Linked DNA regions of Homo sapiens: all the other regions are linked to region 2. The links are contacts of gene promoters, found by promoter capture Hi-C in blood cells and fetal thymus (Javierre and others, 2016). All regions are on one chromosome and are shown on one strand. The core of a region is centred on a gene start or on the middle of the fragment in contact, and the rest is flanking DNA. Distances in the headings are between cores, read along the strand shown.

Region 1 (3,066 bases), core at 346-2,845, 580 kb after region 2:
CCAGCCTGGATGACAGAGCAAGACTCTGTCTCAAAATAAGTAAATAAGTAAATAAATAAATAAATAAAAGTCAATAAATAATAAAAATCAAAGACCAAAGCCTGTATGGAGAAAACTATAGGAGAAAGTGTCTCTTCTCTCTAAATGAGAGAACGAGAGAGGGAGGGAACCATGAATTTTGCTGCGTATCTAAATTTTTGGGGGTTTTCAAAAGCCAAACACACTTAAACCACATCTGCAGCTTTCACAATGACTCCAGAATACTTGGGGCGCTAAAGTCACTTTGGTACTTCGAGGTAGTGAATTAAAGAAGTGAAAGTGTTACAGTGACAAGAGAGGCCACTGCTCTGGGAAAGACACAGAAAGGAGCGCGACGTGTAGATGATGAGGAACACGGAACTGAGTGTGTGGCTGCTAATGGCTTTAGATAAATCATCTACAGAGACGCTTCAAAAGGAAATTCTGAACCAAATGGAATGGGTCAAACTTAATCGGATCCTGATCCAAACATTCATTGATGAGACAATGGGGGAAATTTGAATGCTGACTGACTAGCTAATGTTATTAATGTTAAATTTTTTTTAGTATGATAATGGCATTGTGGGGTTTTTTTTTTTGAAAAGTCCTTATTCTTTAGTATTACATGCTGAAATATTTGTGGGAAAAATAATATGATGTCTGGAATTCATTTAAAAATATTCTGAGGTTAGGGAAGGCAAGCAGATAGGCATGAGGAAGAAACAATTTTGACTATGAGTTAGTAAGAGGGACAGGGACCATGTGCATGAGGGATCATTAGACTATTCTACCTACTTTTGGTTTATATTTAAGTTTTACTAAAAAATGGCTGGACACAGTGGCTCACATCTGTAATCCAAGCACTTTGGAAAGCCAAGGTAGGAGGATTGCTTGAGGCCAGGAGTTCAACATCAGCCTGGGCAACACAGTAAGACCCCTTTCTCTACAAAACAACAACAACAACAAAAGAATAGCTGGGCATGGTGGCATGTGCCTGTAGTCCCAGCTACTTGTGAGGCTGAGGTGGGAGGATGGCTTGAGCCCAGGAGTTGGAGGCTGCAGTGAGCTACGATTGTACCACTGAACTCCAGCCTGGCAACAGAGTGAGACCCTGTCTCTAAAAAAAAATACAAAATAAGTAAATAAATGATAATAATAAAATAAACTGGCAAGATGCAGTGGTTCATGCCTGTAATCCCAGCACTTTGGGAGGCTGAGGCAGGAGGATTGCTTGAGGCCTGGAGTTCAAGGCCAGCTTGGGCAACATAGCGAGATGCCATCTCTACAAAAAAATAGAAAAATTAGCAGGGCATGATGTGCACCAGAAGGCCTAGCTACTCAGAAAGCTAAGGCGGGAGGATTGCTTGAGCCCAGAAGTTGGAGGCTGGTGATCAGCCCTTCACTGTGTCTCATTGGGACCTAAGGATAACCCCCCACAAGCCTCCTGACTTCCACCCTGCCCATGCCCCTACCCTCTATTTCCAACACAGCAGCAAAGTGAATGCTTTTTAAAAATTATCTGTAGGTCAGTTCACTCCTCTGCTCAGGACCCTGCGCAGACTCCCCTTCCCGCCCAAAGTGAAAGCCCGCAAGACCCTGCCCTCACTCCACCCTGCAGCAACCATAGGCCCAGATCCAGCTTGGCAGGCTCCATTCTGGGGCCCTCCTACCTCCTTTACCCGGAATGCTCTTCCCCCATCATCCACTGGTTTTCTGCTCCAGGACTCTGTTCACTTATCACCATCTCAGCAGAGCTGCCTCTGCCCACCTAATGCCCCTGCTCCATGCCCACCATTTTTTGGCACTCTTTTTTTTTTTTTTTTTTTGAGACGGAGTCTCGCTCTGTCACCCAGGCTGGAGTGCAGTGGCGCGATCTTGGCTCACTGCAAGCTCCGCCTCCCGGGTTCACGCCATTCTCCTGCCTCAGCTTCCCGTGTAGCGCCCACCACCACGCCCGGCTAATTTTTTGTATTTTTAGTAGAGACGGGGTTTCACCGTGTTAGCCAGGATGGTCTCGATCTCCTGACCTCGTGATCCGCCCACCTTGGACTCCCAAAGTGCCGGGATTACAGGCGTGAGCCACCGCGCCCGGCCTGGCACTCTTGAATTTCCCTTGCTGCTGTACTTTTTCTTTTTTCTACTTACTTTTTCCACTTTCTAACATATTATGTATTTTTGTATGATGTGTATCCCTTATTTTCTGTATCTGAGCAGAGAGAATTTAATCTTGGCTAGGCTCGCTGATATCCTGCACATACCTAGAACAATGCCTAGCATGCAGTAGGTGCTCATTAAAATGAGAAGAATGAGAGAATGGATTCGTGAAAGCTGATTTTCATTCCATTCCAGCCACTTGCAACCACAAAATTCATGAAACATATCTATTGGCTTGAACTGCCATTCTTGCTAGAAGAATCTGCTGATGGTGATCAATGTTTTATACCACCATTTTATTGGTTTTCCTACATTGTAAAACCAATGTTTTACACCTTTTCCTTTGTAGAAAAGGGGAGCATCTCTACTTGTGATCACTATTCATGTATCTGGAGAAAAATACCAATCAATACATTTCCCATTATACCTCCCACATAGAAGGTTTTCATTTTGCTGAGGTTGCAGTTGTTATTTTAGGGACTGTTACTGTTTGTGACTTTGCCATTGAGATTCTGCCAAAGGCTCTGTTTCTGATCAGCAGGCCTTCCGAGAACTGCCGTCCGATCAGCCAGTGGCATTTACCAGGCACCTTCTCAGGGTGCTGAGCCCTTACATGATGCAAAGCACAGCCGAGGCCTCGTCAGCAGCTCAGCCATGACATGCTTCATATCCCACACGATTCACCTCTTGATCTTTAACTGTTTCATGGAGGGAAATTTTAAATCCAGGCTTCCCCCTCTAATGAATTCCCATAAATGTGCATGGGTGTTAAAAATACAAAATCCTAGCAAATGTTTTATATGATATAACAGCAGACTCCAATCCAGCAAAATAAAATAAATAAAATGACTAATCATGTTATAACTGTTTACTTAATTTTTACTCTTGGGCATT
Region 2 (3,405 bases), core at 888-3,387:
CTCAAAAAACAAAACAAAACAAAACAACCTATTAATTAGTCACACCATTTCCTAAAAGTCATGCTGTTAACTAAAGGTGACTGCAATTGTCCAGGGGTGATAATCAGCTGAATTTCGTTTTACATGGTTATTAAATAACATGAAACATGGTTCATTCAAGCACTTTAAAAACCATACCTTTCAAATTCATACATTTTTAAATCATGTATCAAATGAAGAATAGGCTGCCTACAAAGACAAGTAAATGACTAAACTCAAAAGTTTCCTTGCTCTTCCAGCCATGACCCAGTCCATTCCAAATCCCAGATCTTCAGAAACATCAGTCATATTGGGACAGAAACTTTTCTCTGGGTATAGATTTACCCTAGCACCTATCTCATTATATTGAATTTTCCAGCATATTTAAATAAACTATTAATTAGTCACACTATTTCTTAAAAGTCACACTATCAACTAATCGTGACCGCAATTATCTAGGGGTGATAATCTGCTGAGTCTACTCTTTAAATACACTGGGACCCAGCATATTGAGTTATATTGGCACAGAAACTTCACTCTGGGTATAGATTTACCCTAGTACCTTGCCGGCAGGATCCTATTATTCATGGTTGTACAAGCAAGGTTCAGGGAAGAGGCTGGCACAGAGAAGGTACCTGGTAACTGTTGTTTGAGGCTGAATTCAGCTCAACTCAGCTCCAGTAGAGATGGTGTCCCCTTCTCTACCGTGTTGAGATAGTGTGCAGTCCCTTCCTAAGGGCTGTTACCCACCGCAATAGGACTTGTCAGCTTCAACTTTTAAATTTCTCTGCTCCCGCTGGGACCCACCCGCTTCAAAAATCATCATGTGGTTTTAGCACCAATTTAGTAAACACAAACTGTCTGAAATATTTTGATTTTAGAGAGTTACTTACAATCACCACATTAAATGATACCTTTCTCCCATGCAGTGAAAATGACAGCAAAATGGTCATTGAATAATGAAATTAATTTTCTCTTGGGCATCTGTGGCAAAGCACATGATTTCAATGGTTATCTTAGATCAGCCCAGTGACCTTTACTGGCATGTTGTAACATCAGGCGCCTTAGGAAACTGAAAACTCAATCGTCACTTCCCATACCACTGCCCCAGGTTGGCAGGGCAGGCATTTCACATCTAGAGTCTCATTTTAAAGCAAGCCTCGCTTTTCAAAAGTTCATTAACAAAGTCTCACAATTAAGAGAGCAGCCCTGTGACTCATTTTTGGATACCTGTAAATAACAGCTCCTCCCTCTGCTGAGAAACGGCTGAAACAAGTGCGTGAGAACCACAGGAAGTAATACAGATCTCAGCTGGTGTCAGCGGAGTCTAGAAAAAGGCAGAATTCCCTCTCAGGACGGCGTGGCTCTCGCAGGCATTGCCACTACTTCTCTCCATGTTTCTAAAACAAAGTCTTACGTGGGCTTCGAAGGGACTCCTCGAAGGCTCTATCAATTTCTCCGTCTTTCCTGGCTACTGAGTGACACCGCCAAGTTCAAGTCAAGAAGTACCCATTCTGGTGTTTTTGACACAGTCACCCTACTAGGAAGTGAAGAGGTGATAATAAAAAAACACTCCAGCCTTTCGATTTAAAATAAAAGTAGTCTTGGGTGGACACTTTATAAAGGCAGCCTACCAACAGGTATCCCTAAAATAATTCTTACGAAGCACTAAATCCTAAGTCCCTCAGCCTCTGAAATTAAAAGTAATTTTAAAAAATCATTCTGCTTTATATGAGAAACCCAATGCTGTGTTTCCGAAGGTGCCCAGAGGCGGCGTGAGGACCTGCGCCAGATCCAAAATCCCACCTAAGGCACAGCCGCGGGTCCCGAGCCTAGACAGTGCCCCCGCCCCGACCCGCCCTCCCCGATCTCTCCGCGCACGGGGAAAATAGTCAGGAAGAGAAATGGGGGCTCAGGAAGAGAAAAACAAACCTGGACTGGGAGCGAGAGTGCGAACCGAGAAGCCCCTCTCCCGGCAGGGCGCGCGTCCCCTGTGGGCGCAGCGATGGAGAAGGAAACCTGTTGCGCGACTCCCGGCGGCTCCGCTCCCGGCGCCTCCTGCGGCCGAGGCTGAGTTCCTCCACGGCCGCCCGAGCTCCGCGCCGCCGCGGCCGCATCTGGGCGCCGCCGGCTCAGCCCCCGCCGCTTAGGAAGCGACCACAGCTGGGGACCAGGCCCCGCCCCGGGATGACAGCGCTGGGGCGCGGCGGCAGCCGGCTCACAGAGCGCGGGTTCCCGCCCCACCCAGAGTCCATGCGCTCGGGACCGCCCGGAGCCGGGGACGCGCTCCAGCCCCTCCCGCAAGCCCAGGGGCGTTCCCGCGGGCTGCGCGGACCGGCGCGGGGAGTGGGATGTTTGCCGCCCAAGACACTTCCTCCGCTCGTCCTCTGGTCCCCAGGGCAGGGAGCGCGCTGGACTTCCCCCGGGAATCCCCGCTGCGCTGGTGACATTTGCAGTCCGGTGCGTTGCCGCGGCGAGGACGCTGGAAGCCGTCTCTGAGCGTGGGTGTGGCTGCGGAAGCTGCGGCAGGTCCTGCATCCCTGGGACCCTCGAGGACGCGGGCGAGGAGCCTGCGGTCACACGGAGGCCGAGCACCGCCTTCCCAGAACCCTGCCGACCAACCTCTCTCCAGTCGGCCTCAACACCCGCCGGGCTCATCATTCTCTGGATATCAACTGAGCGTCCCCTTGTGTGCCCACCGCGCTCAAAAATACTGCCAAGACCCACCCTCCAGGTCCCGGCACTTTAACGGGGAGGGATAAATAGAAAGTGTGGATTGTGCCAGGTGGTGGTAAAGCACCTTGAAAAACAAGGCTGAGGCTGAAAAGTAAGGAAGTGATACTCAAAAAAGGAAAAATCGGGCCGGGCGCGGTGGCTCACGCGCGTATTCCTAACACTTTGGGAGGCCGAAGGGGGAGGATCTCTTGAGCCCAGGAGTTTGAGACCAGCCTGAGCGATGTGGTGAAAGCCTATCTCTACAAAAAATAAAAAAATTAACTGGGCGTGGTGGCGCACGCTGTGATCCCAGCTGCTCGGGAGGCTAAGGTGGGAGGATCACTTGAGGCTGAGAGGTCAAGGATGCAGTGAGCCGAGATCGCGCCACTGTACTCCAGCCTGGGCGACAGAATGAGACGCTGTCTCAATTGAATGAGAAGAAAAAAAATAAAACTAAAGAACGAATCCTGCCTTGATGGCAGAATGTTTAGACACAGGAACCACCTGAAAGCTCCCAGTTGCCAAAGATGGAACCATTTGAGCAACGAAGTAAACTAAACAAGGTAGTATTGGATTACAAGCCAAAGTAAAAAAATCCATGAGTCTACACTGATATAAATAAATAATTGAATAAATAAATAAAAGGCGGAGAGGAGACAAATCTCCTATACA
Region 3 (3,373 bases), core at 142-2,641, 620 kb after region 2:
CAACTAGCTTGTTCCGCCCATCAGTGCTAGGAACACTGCCTTCAGCAGGAGCCCAAATGTGGGCTGGGATCTGTCTCATCTCTGGCCAGTGTCTTCCTCCTCCTTGCTGTGCCAGGAGCCCCTCTTAAAGCCACAGTGCCACTTGGAGGGCTCTTTATACATTGCAGATTCACTTACAGAAGGAGGAATTGTTATTCAAAGGCTTTAATACATAATGAAAGCTATCCACATTTCATAAATTAGACAAGCTAGGGAGCTAAACGACCTTTGTAACTGAATTTGTCCCTATTTCATCACTAGTAGTCTTTAGATGCATGAATGTGGATTTTTCATGGTAATGGAAACAGGTGTGACACTCTGGTTAAAATCAAAACTTCCTGAAGGCATTCCTTGAGACAATACCCATCCCCTTCTAACTAATTATTTTTATAATTGCAGTTTTCTTTTGCTATCTTCCCCATCCCCCAAATATATTAAAAAGTTTTATTTCTCAGAGTTTATATGCAAAACATGCACATAAAAATATGGTATGTTTTCTTATGAAATATTTTCCCAAAATACTTGGCATTAGAACTAAGTGTCTTTCACTGACAATAGCATTTCCTTAATATAGGCAGATAAAAATGACTGCAAGTAAGAGAAAGATCAAAATATTATCTGAAAAGAAACGGCAGAGATCAAAATTGACGATACACGATGAAAATGAAATAAGAGAAAGGCAAGGAATCCAGGTAATCAGCAGAGTGAGGATAAATCACCATCTGATAGTGAAAGTAGGCCTGCTTTTAAAGTCACTTAAAAAAAAGAGAGAGAAACAAAAAACAGGAAGTTAGTTTTGATGGTCTCTAAGGCCTCTTCTGGTGTGGAATGTGATGGTTCTGTGAAATTTTTTCTTTGTTTTCATTTTAAAATCGAAGATGAATTCATTTTATGAGAGAGGCCAAAGCTGGCTCATAGTTTTGAGCCCATCCCACCATTTCCCTCTAGAGTACCAGGCTGCAAAAGTAAACACCTCCTTTACCATGCTCTCTTCCTCCCACTCTTCCTTTCTTCTTCTTACTCTAAAACAAACTCATAGAAGTGGAGTGTAGGATGGTGGTTATCAGAGACTGGGGTGCGATGGGGTGGATGGAGAAAGAGGAGATGTTACTCAACAGGTCCAGGGTTTCAGTCAGTCAGACGGGAGGAGGAATAGGTCTGGTGCTGTATCGCAACAGCATGGTGACTATACATATTTTGGAATATATACATTTTGTGGAATAATGAAAAGAGAGCATTTTAGGTGTTCTCACAACAAAGAAATGATAAATATTTGGGCCAGATGCAGTGGCTCACGCCCGTAATCCTAGTTTTGGGAGGTTGAGACAGGCAGATTGCTTAAGCCCACGAGTTCAAGACCAGCCTGGGCAATATGGCAAAACCCCATCACTACAAAAAAACTACAAAAATTAGCCAGGTGTGGTGATGTGCACCTGTACTCCCAGAGACTCTGGTGTCTGAGGTGGGAGGATCACCTGAGCCCAGGGAGGTTGAGGCTGCAGTAAGCCATGATTGAGCCACTATACTCCAGCCTGGGCAACACAGTGAGACCCCATCTCAAAAAAAGATAAATATTTGCAGTAATAGATAGGCTAATTGTCTTGATTTGATCATTCCACAATCTATACATGCCTTGAAACTTCATGTATGCTATAAATATATGCAATTATTACTTGTCAATTAAAAATACAATAAAACATAAATAAATTAAAACAGCTACTATGTCCTAACAGGCTCAGGCTCTGTGCTGGGCACACAGAAGTGAATAGGAATCTCTCTAATCTTGGACTAGCAGCATAGGAGACAGGGGTGTACAAACTACAGTGGAGAGATAAAGGAGGGAATAATTGACCCTTTTGGGGTGAGTCAGGAAAAGTTTCAGGACACAAGAAGTGGCTTATACAAGTGAGTAGGGATAAAAAAGAGGAAGAGGCAGGGAAGGCATCCCAGGCAGGGAAAATACCATGCATGCGGGCCCAAGGCAGGAAAATGGAAGCGAAGAGGAGGGAGGTGAGTATGGCTGGAGGCTTGGAGGAGAGCGGGGACGTGCTGGAATGTGAAACAGAGGCCTGTAAAAAGATTTAGGCACAGAAGAAATGTGATCAGCATCACTGTCTTTTGCTTCAATTTTGATACCTCAATTTGATCCCTAAGTAATGCATACGTTTAATTTGTGGTGGTGTTTTCAGGATTGAAATTCGTGTATATAAAGCACTGGGTGTAATGAATGGCATGTAGTAGGAGCACTGCTCTAAGACATTCAGGATACACATTCTATTTCTTTGTTTCTATAAATCACACCTAGCTCAGCTCCTTCTACAAACATTGCCTAAAAGACATTTTCCAGGATGCCTTCCTTGTCTTGAACCAAACAAGAACTTTTGGGCTTATGAGTGTAGGAAGACAGGAGGGGACTATCTTGAGTGTTAGCCTCAGCAATTGCTGCTTCTGTGACTCTAACTCTCTCATTGAAGGCAAGTGATTCACTAGGGACTCCTTCCATCCCTGCTACACTCAGCCATGGGTTTTTTTTTCTTTTATACCTTTATTTTTAATTGACACACAATAATTGTGCATATTCGTGGGGTACATAGCGATGTTTCAATACATATAATGTATATGATCACATCAGGGTAATTAGCATATCCCTTATCCCAAACATTTATCATTTCTTTGTGTTGGGAACATTCAATATCCTCCTTCTAGCCATTTGAAACTATATAATATGTTATTGTTAACTATAGTCATCCTATAATGGTATAGGACACTAGAACTTATTTCTTCTGTCTAGCTATAATTTTGTACCCTTTAACAAATCTGTTCCTATTCCTTCCTTCCCTCTACTCTTCCCAGCCTCTAGTATCTTCTGCTCTACTTTTCACTTCTGTGAGATAAACTTTTTTTAGCTTCCATATATGAGTGAGAACATGCGGTGTTTAACTCTCTGTGCCTGGCTTTATTTCACTTAACATAAGGGACTCCAGTTCCATCCATGTTGCCTCGAATGACAGGATTTCATTTTTATGGCTGAATAGTATTCCATGGTATATATACACCGCATTTTCTTTATCTATTTATTTGTTGTTGAACACCTAGGTTTCACAACGTCCTTTGAGTAGATCTCCAAGACAACCCAGAAATCCCTCCTTCCATGTCCTCACTCCTCAGAGATTGCTGGGGAGTGCTAAGGTGCCCGTCACTAAGATGCCAGAGGTCTTGACCCCATTCACAGTTGGGAGGTAGGGATGTCAACACACCTGGGGATTGGGTCCTCCTTAGTCCCACCCTCAAAAACTAAAGTCAATTGCTGGTGGGAATGCAAAAGGGCCCCTTT

Evidence for each region. The method cuts DNA at HindIII sites, captures the fragments that hold promoters and counts their contacts. A CHiCAGO score of 5 or more calls a contact.
Region 1: a contact is called between a fragment that was not itself captured here and the fragment with the promoter of STX11 in region 2, in 1 of 17 cell types (neutrophils). The highest score is 5.8, in neutrophils.
Region 3: a contact is called between a fragment that was not itself captured here and the fragment with the promoter of STX11 in region 2, in 1 of 17 cell types (monocytes). The highest score is 5.2, in monocytes.

Annotation. Positions count from the first base shown.
Region 1 is chr6:143,564,383-143,567,448 of GRCh38, reverse strand. All of the region lies in intron 1 of PHACTR2-AS1 (PHACTR2 antisense RNA 1), which reads left to right. It also overlaps a transcript of PHACTR2 not described here. Among named protein-coding and RNA genes, the nearest start is that of PHACTR2-AS1, 3.4 kb to the left of the region's middle. The HindIII fragment of the contact is 5,792 bases long and covers 1-3,066 here.
Region 2 is chr6:144,149,249-144,152,653 of GRCh38, reverse strand. It overlaps STX11 (syntaxin 11), which reads right to left and starts at 2,137. Exons shown (of 2, transcript NM_003764.4): 1 at 1,951-2,137. RefSeq lists a silencer at 2,011-2,450. The HindIII fragment of the contact is 10,810 bases long and covers 1-3,405 here.
Region 3 is chr6:143,526,047-143,529,419 of GRCh38, reverse strand. No RefSeq gene overlaps it. Among named protein-coding and RNA genes, the nearest start is that of FUCA2, 16 kb to the right of the region's middle. The HindIII fragment of the contact is 5,428 bases long and covers 1-3,373 here.